2 separate regions of the Homo sapiens genome follow, and region 1 is linked to region 2. The links are contacts of gene promoters, found by promoter capture Hi-C in blood cells and fetal thymus (Javierre and others, 2016). All regions are on one chromosome and are shown on one strand. Each heading gives the region's core, a stretch centred on a gene start or on the middle of the fragment in contact. The rest is flanking DNA. Distances are from core to core; before and after follow the strand shown.

Evidence for each region. Contacts are between HindIII fragments. The CHiCAGO score rates a contact against its expected background, and 5 or more counts as called.
Region 1: a fragment that was not itself captured here is called in contact with the fragment with the promoter of RORA in region 2 in 6 of 17 cell types (M2 macrophages, M0 macrophages, endothelial precursors and 3 more); the score reaches 9.1 in M2 macrophages.

Annotation. Positions count from the first base shown.
Region 1 is chr15:61,831,234-61,835,935 of GRCh38, reverse strand. LOC124903501 (a long non-coding RNA gene) reads right to left here and starts at 1,241. Exons shown (of 3, transcript XR_007064668.1): 1 at 1,159-1,241. RefSeq lists enhancers at 3,593-4,457, 4,458-4,702. The HindIII fragment of the contact is 3,255 bases long and covers 1,677-4,702 here.
Region 2 is chr15:61,226,872-61,231,590 of GRCh38, reverse strand. RORA (RAR related orphan receptor A) reads left to right here and starts at 2,289. Exons shown (of 11, transcript NM_134261.3): 1 at 2,289-2,538. The coding sequence starts at 2,373. The HindIII fragment of the contact is 13,095 bases long and covers 1-4,719 here.

The sequences.
Region 1 (4,702 bases), core at 2,055-4,554, 600 kb before region 2:
TTCTTGGAGGTGGAGAGAGCTGCTGTTCAGAAAAATTTCCAAGGTTTCTGTGATTTGTTATGAACTGAAGGTCGTTCCCTAGACTGGATCATAGGAGGCACTGAAGCCTGCCTACCAGTCAACGTGGAAGCAGATGTCTGCTGGCAATCCTGAAGCAGGGGAAAGAAAATTCAGGAGAAAAATTCACTTGGCTTGCTTGGTGAGTTTCATTTTGCATCCCTCCAGGCTGTCTTTTTCTGATCTTCCACTAGAGGGCGCCCAGCCACCAGCTGTGCCCGTGCTCCAAGGAAGCCTCTCCCTTCTGATCCTGCCCTTTGGGCTCCGGTGTGGGGTCCCAGGAGAGAGTCCTGGCCAATCACAGACTCGGGAGGATTCCAGCTCCAACCCCGAAACAGGCTACCCCCCGACTTCCTGGACAGGGTGGCCACAGTGAGAGCCCTTCACTTCAGGAGTGGGATTTCAGAGACCGCAGTGAGGGTTTTTCATTTATGATCGTTTATGTCTCTTCCATTCAAAAGGGTGCTGCGAGGATGGGGTTCTGGGGCTATATTTCCTGAACCCCAGCTGTCAGACCCTGCAAAGCCCTGTGTCTTTGCTGGAACAATAGACTGGAATATTTGAAACCAGAACTCCAGAAAATCCAGGACAGATGGCTTCCGTGATCGGGGCAAGCTCTGTGTCACAGAGCCCCCGGGCCTCCCTGCCCTGGCCAGAGTAACTCCTGCACTGGCACTCTGTGGCTGAGGGGGGTTACTGTCGGCTCAAAATGCCAGTGAGCAGGTCACTGGTTCATGGTTTGTCGGTGGCCCGCTCTCAGCGTGCACTGTAACCCCCAAGTTGAGCAGGGGGGTGTGATATGTCTGGTCCACCTAACCGGCACCTACCCCATTCTGTTTCCTCCTAGCTCTGTGTTTAAGGACCTCGTTTTGTGCAACCTGCCCCTCTGTGAATGTCTTCTGACACCGTGGAACATTCGATGAGAATAACCCGGAGCCACATTCCCACCGCACTTTAAAAGCCTTACAGGGTGCTTTTGCACACGGGATGCCCCTACAACCGTAAGGCAGGGGCAGGAAGAATGACCCTCGCCCCTCACGTCACAGATCAGAACAGAAAGGCTCAGAGCAAGTAAGTCCTGCAATTAGGACTCGAACTCACATCAGATTCAGCAGGGGTTGCTCGTACTTCCTCAGGTCTTTGCAGCAGCAGGAATTTGGGTTTGACTTTAGAGAAAACCTTCTGAGCCCCTGACCTTCAAACACATGGGTGCGTTTTAGGAGATTGTGACGCTGCCTTCAGATACTCTTCATAAAACGGCAGCGACGTGTGTTCCCTGAATGGGTTGAAGGGCGTCCTTCCTTGAGGCAGGAGGATGAACTGGATAAACCTGGGGGTGATTTCTAACCACACTGTTTTGGAGAACAAAGCACCCAGAAATAGATGAATCGGTCCCTTTAAACAGAAGAACACTTGTGTACAATTGTATGGAAAGCAGGCAATTTCCAGTTCAGTTAAGAACTACTGTAGGGCCTTTGAAGAGGTGCTCCTAAAAGGTGCTATGATGGATTTAAAAATTGTGTGCGGCTTGTGAGCTCATTGTTCCAGAGCCCGGCCTCTGTCCCGCGGGAAGCGTGCAGTTCTCTCGCTGGCCACAGGGTGGCGGAGTGACTTAAGCTTCGTGCCTCTTTCAATCTCGGGACAGAAAGCTCAGCTTCTGCCAAAGTGAGCAAAATGGAGCATCCAAGAGTTTGTTTAGAGTGGTGTGGACTTCATGTTTGTGAAAACTCTAAATGTCAGTGCTGGGAGGTGGTGAGGAAAGGGGATACTGGATTCTGAAGTAGAGGGGGCTTTTCCAAGGAGCATTGAGTGGCCAAAGTCAAATCCACCCATAGGGCCAGGCATGGTGGCATGCGCCTGTAGTACTAGCACTCTGGGAGGCTGAGGCAGGAGGATCACTTAAGGACAGGAGGCTGAGGCTGCAGTGAGCCGAGTTCGCGCCACTGCACTCCAGCCTGGGTGACAGCGCAAGACCCTGTCTCTTAAAGCAAAGAAATGATCACGATGACCTCATTAGCTGGCAGATGCTGAGTGAGCTCTGTCCCTTGGAGGCTCACCTTTGGAAACTGCAAAACCACTGCCACTTCCCCCATCTCTATCTGAATTTCCTTTTATAGATTGTTGGTCCTCATTTTTTTGCTCTTTTTTTTTTTTAATAAAAGGAGTGGTTTAAGTGTTTGTATACATTTTGGAGGAAATAATGTCTGATGAGGCAATGGTTCATTATTGAACCCCATATTTGGATATATGTTTCTAATGTGCATGCTGTATTTAGGGTTATGGTGAGAGAAAAGATTTAAATTTGGGAATAGTTTGGACCTTCTTGGGTGTGCATGCGCTGCACGGGCACACACACACACACGCACAAAGACAACACAGCTAGACCTGAAGGAGTGTGTGAGCCATGGTTAGAGACACTGAGGACCTTACCAAGTTCCCGGGTTAGGTAGAAAGGGTAGGATCCAGGATAGATCCCACTGTTGCCCATGTAGAAGCTCTGGGCTCTCATCTCTTACACTTCTGCCTAAACCCTTGGCGCCGCCGTATAAAGACAGTAGAAGTTTAAATGGCATAGTGAGATTAGCAGAAGGAAGGTTGAATTGCAACATGGGTACAGTTTTGAAGCACATCTTGGGGGATAGAAAAGCCTGTAATATTTTTTGTAGAAGTAATTAATATTCACTTTCTCAAACTTGAGATCATAGACTTGTGTGGTATGTGTGTGCCTGCAAGTGTCTGCGTATGAGACACACACAAAAAACACACACCATGAAATTGCTGATAATGCTTCAGAACAGAGTGCCCATCTTTAAATTTTTTCTTCCTTCAATATTTGCTTTTTCATCGACATTGATGACATTCATTTATTAATCTTTCCTAGACATTTATAGATCACCTACTGTGTGCCAGGCAATTAAGATGAAACAGAGTCATGCTGATGTTTAGAAAAAGACAGATCCCTGGGAATCCATTCTTTTTTGATAGGGAAAAGCAGGGCTCTACATTTGGCTGAGAATGTGGCTCCAGGATAGGCAGGCTGGGTTTGAAACCCAGCCCAGGCTCTTCCTATTATTCAGCTTCCTCCTCCTAAAATACGGATAATAGTATTACCCACATCAACACATTGTCGTCAGAACTAAATGAACTAACATAATGGGCTCTCCACAGTACACCCAGAAAGAAATCAAGAAACATGTAGCTCAAGGAATATATTATTCCTCTTTCTTTATCAACCAAAGCGTTCCATAATCCTCTTCTAACAAATATCTATCACGTGCTCATAGACCAGTTACTGTAGGGAATAAAGATGAGCTGGACAGTTGTTTCTGCTCAGGGAGCTGGGAAGAGCTGGGAGACATGTCACTGTGGCCACCAGGGAAGGGGTAGGTGGTGACAAAGCTCAGAGGTGAACCTGTGGCTCTGGGTCTACGAAGATGAGGGAGACGTGGCTGTGGCCTCCGGCTCAGATCGGGCTGCCTGGCTGGGAGCACTGTTCACCTGAGATACAGCTCCTAGGTCTTTTTAGAAACTGCAATCCAATACCTGAAGGACGGCATGACCTTCAGAGACACAGAAGGACTGTGCCTCTGTCAAGAGGATTCTAGGGCATAGGGCAGTTGTCTTTAGAGCTGACCTGAGCCCTCATTTGTAGGAGCTCCCTGAGCTGTGGAGGCCTGTGTCATTCTTCGGGGCCTGGTGATTAAGACAGGTCCATGCTGGTGCCTAGGGGTGCAAAGGAGGCCTGCCCAGGTACTATCTGCTCATCGTAGCTGGGGCTTCCTGGAGCTGTGCCTTACCCCAGGTTCTTGCCGCTTGATTGATGAAGGTGTGTGGAGGGGAAACTGTATTTATTAATAGCTCCCCAAGCCTCGAGTTCCCTGGGGGAGGATGAGTGAACGCTGGACTCTCGGCAGAGGTGGGGCAGTGCCCCAGGGGAGGCTCTGAAAGACTGAAAGCCAAGACCACTAGGGATTGATGCTGCCCCGTGCCCCACCCCAGGGCCAGTGGACCTTGTGGGTCACACAGACAGGGGCTGCGCTCTGTTCGCAGTGCCCAGCTTGTGCCCTCCACAACGGGGCACCCTGTAAGCATCTGCTGGGAGAGAGATGGAGAGAGTGAGGGCGAGTGCCCACGCCTCCACCCTGGGAGAGGCAGTGTGATGCCGAGAAGAGGAGGAGCAGCGCAAGAAACCTGAGACCGTTCTCTGTTCCTTTGTTAGCCAGGCCACCCTGAGCAGATTAGTTTACCTCTCTGGGCCTTGATTGAGAAATCTGTAACGGAAGGAGGAAAACCACTGCTGCTGCCTCCCTTGCTGGGCTCTGCCAGTGTTAGTGGCTGCAGCTGGTGTGTCTGGGACCTGGTAGTGTGTGCAGACAGCCTGCTCCGTGGGCTCAGTCCAGTGCCAGCTCTGTCCAGTAGCTCCCAAGTCGTCCCTTTCCTGCCCCTGTCACCGAGCCTCTCCCCTCAGGTGAGGAGCAACTGGCAGTGTGGACAGATTATCCGTCCTCACCACGGGGCCATGACGTTACCTTTCAGGAATGAAGTCCACTTGGGTTTTGAAATCAGTGGGCTCTGACCTTGCAGGCCTTCTTCCTCAGTCTCCTATTCCCGGTGGGGCCCAGCGGCTGCCCCACACTGGGGTCCC
Region 2 (4,719 bases), core at 1,040-3,539:
TTTATTTTTTCCCTTGGGGAAAGCACTTGAGTTCCCAATTGTTTTAAATTGCAGAAGCAGTAATTGTCTTAGAGAGTTAGGAGAAATGGCTTTTTGGAGCTGCGATCTTTTTCTGAAGGGAATATAGAGTCTATTTTAATTGATTCAGGTCATTATGACTATTTTCTAGATGGTCTTTTCAGGGTGACTAAACATCACCTTAGTTAAAGGAGAACAGTAAGAAACTCATTAAAGGTCCAAGGGGAACAGACTTAATAAAAAATGTTAACAAGTTGCTACTGGTACCTAAAAGGAAACCAGGGATACTTTTTAAGTCACTTGCGTCCCAGATAGAATTACTGGTGAAATTTAATGTGACGAGTATTTTTTAAAGTATTCTAAAATAAACATGAGGCAGCCAATGTATTCTGAGATGCTCACTGTCCCAGAGGAAGTTGTTTCTTAAACTGTACACTTTGATATATTTGTTTCCTTAGAAAAGTCAAGTGTAACAAGCTAGGTCAATTGCATCAAGAACATTACTAACAGGCTAACCAATGGTAAATGTTGTGAAGGCTACTCTGGAAATCTGTGCTTTCACGTATGGGGAAACCCACACGTCTGATTTGGGATGGAGGAGACAATTGTGCATTGTTTGTAGGCGCCAACAGACAGGCTAAAGCCAGGGATCCTTGCAGAGACAGGATTAAGGTATCAGGACTGTTCACATCTCATTTACATCACCCCGAAGAGTGGACCACAGGTTTTGCTGATTAGTACACAGACTATGGCAAAGGGCATTGTGTATTTGAAATAAGATCAAGATCAGTAACAGTAACAGAAACTATGTGTGAAATTTGGCATATGGCGGTTCCTCTGAAGGATTAGCTAACTGGGTTTCCCGCACTTACTATTTTTTAAAGCATTTTTCCAAACCAGGAAGTTAGCAAAAGAAAAATGTCCCCCAATTCCCTCCGCCTACCCCACGTTCTGAAGCACATATATTTATGCCACCTTCTGGCCTCTAATAATATTATTTATTGTCAAAATTTTGGATCCTTTTGAAAGGAAGGTGGGGCGTATTTCCACAGTGTCTTCGCAGGCAAAAGAAAGTGGTAGATTGAGTATGAAGGCAGACAAATCAGGCTACTACCATTGGAGTATTTTCCATTCTTTCAATTTGTATTGTTCCTTCATCTTGGAGTTTGCAGTCAAGGTAACGATGATGCAATTATCTGCTTTCCTGGAGTTTTAGGTACCTACTAGGGGATGAATGTATTTCAATGGGAGGAGGGTGTAGAATGATGCCTATAATAATACGAATTATTAGGAGCTGTTAATTATCTGAATGTTATCCGGGCATTAGTAATGCCTCTCCAGTATATCTACCTTTTATGGATGAGACTGTACATTTAATAGGAAAAGTACCAGTGGGAATTGACAATTAGCAGCCACGCTTGAGCTAGATGCAGCGTGGCATGTTTTATCCAGCTTAGATAGTTGTCGACCAAACAGGCCAAAGTTTTCTTCAGTAGAAAATGCCCTGCCAAATGGTTTCTGGATCCTTCGCGGACAAACAGCAAAGGAGCTGAAAGCGACCTCTTTCAACCATGCCAGAAACTGTCCATGGCGCTTCTAGATTCACAAAATCTGTTTTAGACACAGATGTCTTTAACCAAGATTGGAAACCCACTGGCCGTCCCATCCCAAAGTAAAAAGTGCCACGTCCTCCCATCCTCCGCCTTCCTTGGGATGTCAGCCCCGTTCTAATTCCTTTTTAGTTTCTCCTCAGCCCTCGGCAGGGCTGGCAGGGGGCTACCTGCGATTTCCCAACGTGGACGTGGACAATCGGATTTGTCTCTACCCAAGCTGGCAGCGGATGGGGACGAGTTCTGTTCCCGAGAGAGTCTCAGAAGTAGGCACGGAATCATCTCACCGATTTTAATTTCTGTCCCTGGGCTGGGGAGAGGGGAGGATTGGGGCGCGGGAGGCTCTGTTCTCCTCCTCCCCTCTTTTCCCCACCTCCCAAAATTGGCAGCCAGTCTGTGGCTCTCGGTCTGGGGTCTGGAGGGTGGGGAATGTGGGTGTGGGGGCCGGCTGGAGAAGCTCTCGCTAGCGCTGCCTGTGGCCAGACCCGCCTCTTGTCCCCTTTCGGGCGCACACACACGTCCACCCAGACACTCCGCGCGCTCCCTCGCGCTTTTGCTTGCCCGCCCGCCGCCGCCTGCTTTTTCCCTCCTGCTTTCGCCGGTCGCCTTCTCCTTCTTTTTTTTTTTTTTTTTTTTTTTTTTTTTTTTTTTTTTTTTTTGGTACCATAGAGTTGCTCTGAAAACAGAAGATAGAGGGAGTCTCGGAGCTCGCCATCTCCAGCGATCTCTACATTGGGAAAAAACATGGAGTCAGCTCCGGCAGCCCCCGACCCCGCCGCCAGCGAGCCAGGCAGCAGCGGCGCGGACGCGGCCGCCGGCTCCAGGGAGACCCCGCTGAACCAGGAATCCGCCCGCAAGAGCGAGCCGCCTGCCCCGGTGCGCAGACAGAGCTATTCCAGCACCAGCAGAGGTAGGAGGCTGGAGAGGGGCTGGGGAGGGGGCGGCGGGAGCCCGGGCGCGGAGCGGGGGGCGGCCGGGAGCGGGCGCCCGGGGCGCGGGGTCCGGCGGCCGCGCGCGAGCCTGCGGCGGCGCCCCGAGCCCGGAGGACCCCCCTCCCCTCCCCCCTCCGCCCCCCAGAAATGTTGCAAACTTTTGCAGCCCGTTCTCGGCTTGCGGGAGCAGAGTGGGGCGGGGGAGGCGGCGGGAAGGTTGACAGCCGGCGGGCTCACCCCCCTGGCTTTGATTTTTCTGCAAACACTGGAGGAAAGCTGCGTTGCCTCAATTAAATACGCTCCCCCAAAATACGGAGATGCGGGGAGTGGGGGCCCGGGAAAGAAACTTTTAAAGCGGCAGTGTCCTTTTAAGAAGGGGCAAAAAAATCTGTTTATGGCCACCCTCCTTCCGCTTTACCTTTTCTCCTCTTGACAGTTTCGGCCCTGGCTGCCCGAGTCGGGGGTGTGTTTTCGGTCCCTCTCAGATCTGGGCGGGGGGCGGGAGGAGTGAGCGACCTGGGAAGTCCCGGGGGTGGAGAGGGGGCGCTCCGGGGTCTGGGGGCGACGTGGACACCTTCTTTGGAGCACGGCGGTGCGTTTGGGATTTGAAGGAAGGGCCGAAGGAAGCGGGGTGCGGGCGGGCGAGCTGTTCGCCAAGTTGTCTGGCGGGCGCGGCGAGGGGAGATGCGCAAGTTTGCAGACCGGGGGTTCGGAGCCCGGCGCCCAGGCTGGCGGGGGGCGTGTGCGCGCCAACGCGCAGAGGGCGGCGGTCCTGTGGGGCGCTCCACGCGCATCCGGAGGGAGCGTCTACAAAAGCAAGCACCGAAACTTATTTCTGCTCTGGGAATCCTTCCCTCTCGGAGGTTCCAAGCATTTCTGCAGGAACCTGGGGATGGTCAGTGCAAGTTGTATGCTGGTTGGATAGTGCAAGCAATGTTTTCTCCTCCCCTGGCGATTTTTACTCTTCATTTTGGTGTTTGGTCTGTGTCTGCGTGTGTTGGGGGGGATGGGGGGGACTCAGTTGCTCCCTCCTTTCCTAAAGTGAGCTGTTGAGGAAAGCTCACTCTTTCTTGAAGGTATTGGAACCTGATGTGTGTTTTTCTCGAGAGTGGGGGATTATTTATTTGAATGCGCCTGGAGTTTGCAAAGAACAGGAGGAAGCTACAGCTTTAATTACTGTTGTAAATAATGTATAAATCGCGCCTGTCACTCCGGAGGAAGCGTGCTCGCGCGAGCCGCCTGGAGCTGGGGACGGAGAGGATTTCTCCAGCCCCGGCTTGGGTACCGGCCCAGCGCGCCCCCTCCTCTTGCACTCGGCTTCTGGCGGCGGTTGGGGAGGGCTGGGTAGAGGCGAATGGGGGCCCCAGGAACTGCTCCCTTCCTCTCGATGTTGTAGTTGGAGGTAGGAATATGGCTGATCATGTGCTGGCTGTTTTACAGTATCCCCCCCCCCACCTTAGCCACACCCCCTGTCCAGGCGCTTTCCCATTCACGGAATTCGAGTACAGTAAAAGCCATCAGGATGACACACGCGAAAAACATTTAATTAAAGGCGATTTCCAAAGGGTGACCGCGGCGAACCGCGGTTTCAGCGGGAGGGGGGCGGCGAGGGCTGGGACAAAAGGGAAGGGGATGAGGGCTGGGGGCCTGGACCTGCCGCTAGCTCGGTGAGTTTGTGTGCGGGGAGCTTTTGGCTGCAAAGAGTATATTTAGACCCTGAGACGGTGGATTTGGAATGCGAGCGGGTTATGTAACAGGGTTAATCAGAAACACTGGAGAAAATCCCCTTCATGTGTTTCTGGGGCTTTTTTTTTTTTTTTGGAATGGGGGGGACATAGTATTTAGGAAGCTGCACTAATTTTTGGTTTGTGCTGCCACCTTTCTCCTTCTTGACCCCCCCACACCCTGTGTTATTAACATCTTCAGGTGTCATTCTTGCCAGAAGGTGTTCTTGCAAGCGATCAGGGTGGCAGGCTGCAGAGCCGACTAGCAAATCCGTAACTTGCTGTTCTTGCAAATTATGTAACGCCGGAGCATTCAGTGCCACCAGCCCCCTTAGGCTCAGCAAAAAGGGGAGAGGGGCATAGTAGGAGTGGGATACATCTTGCACAGCTGACCTGCTGACCCATATCCCCTTCCCCCCACCCTCTGCCCCCACC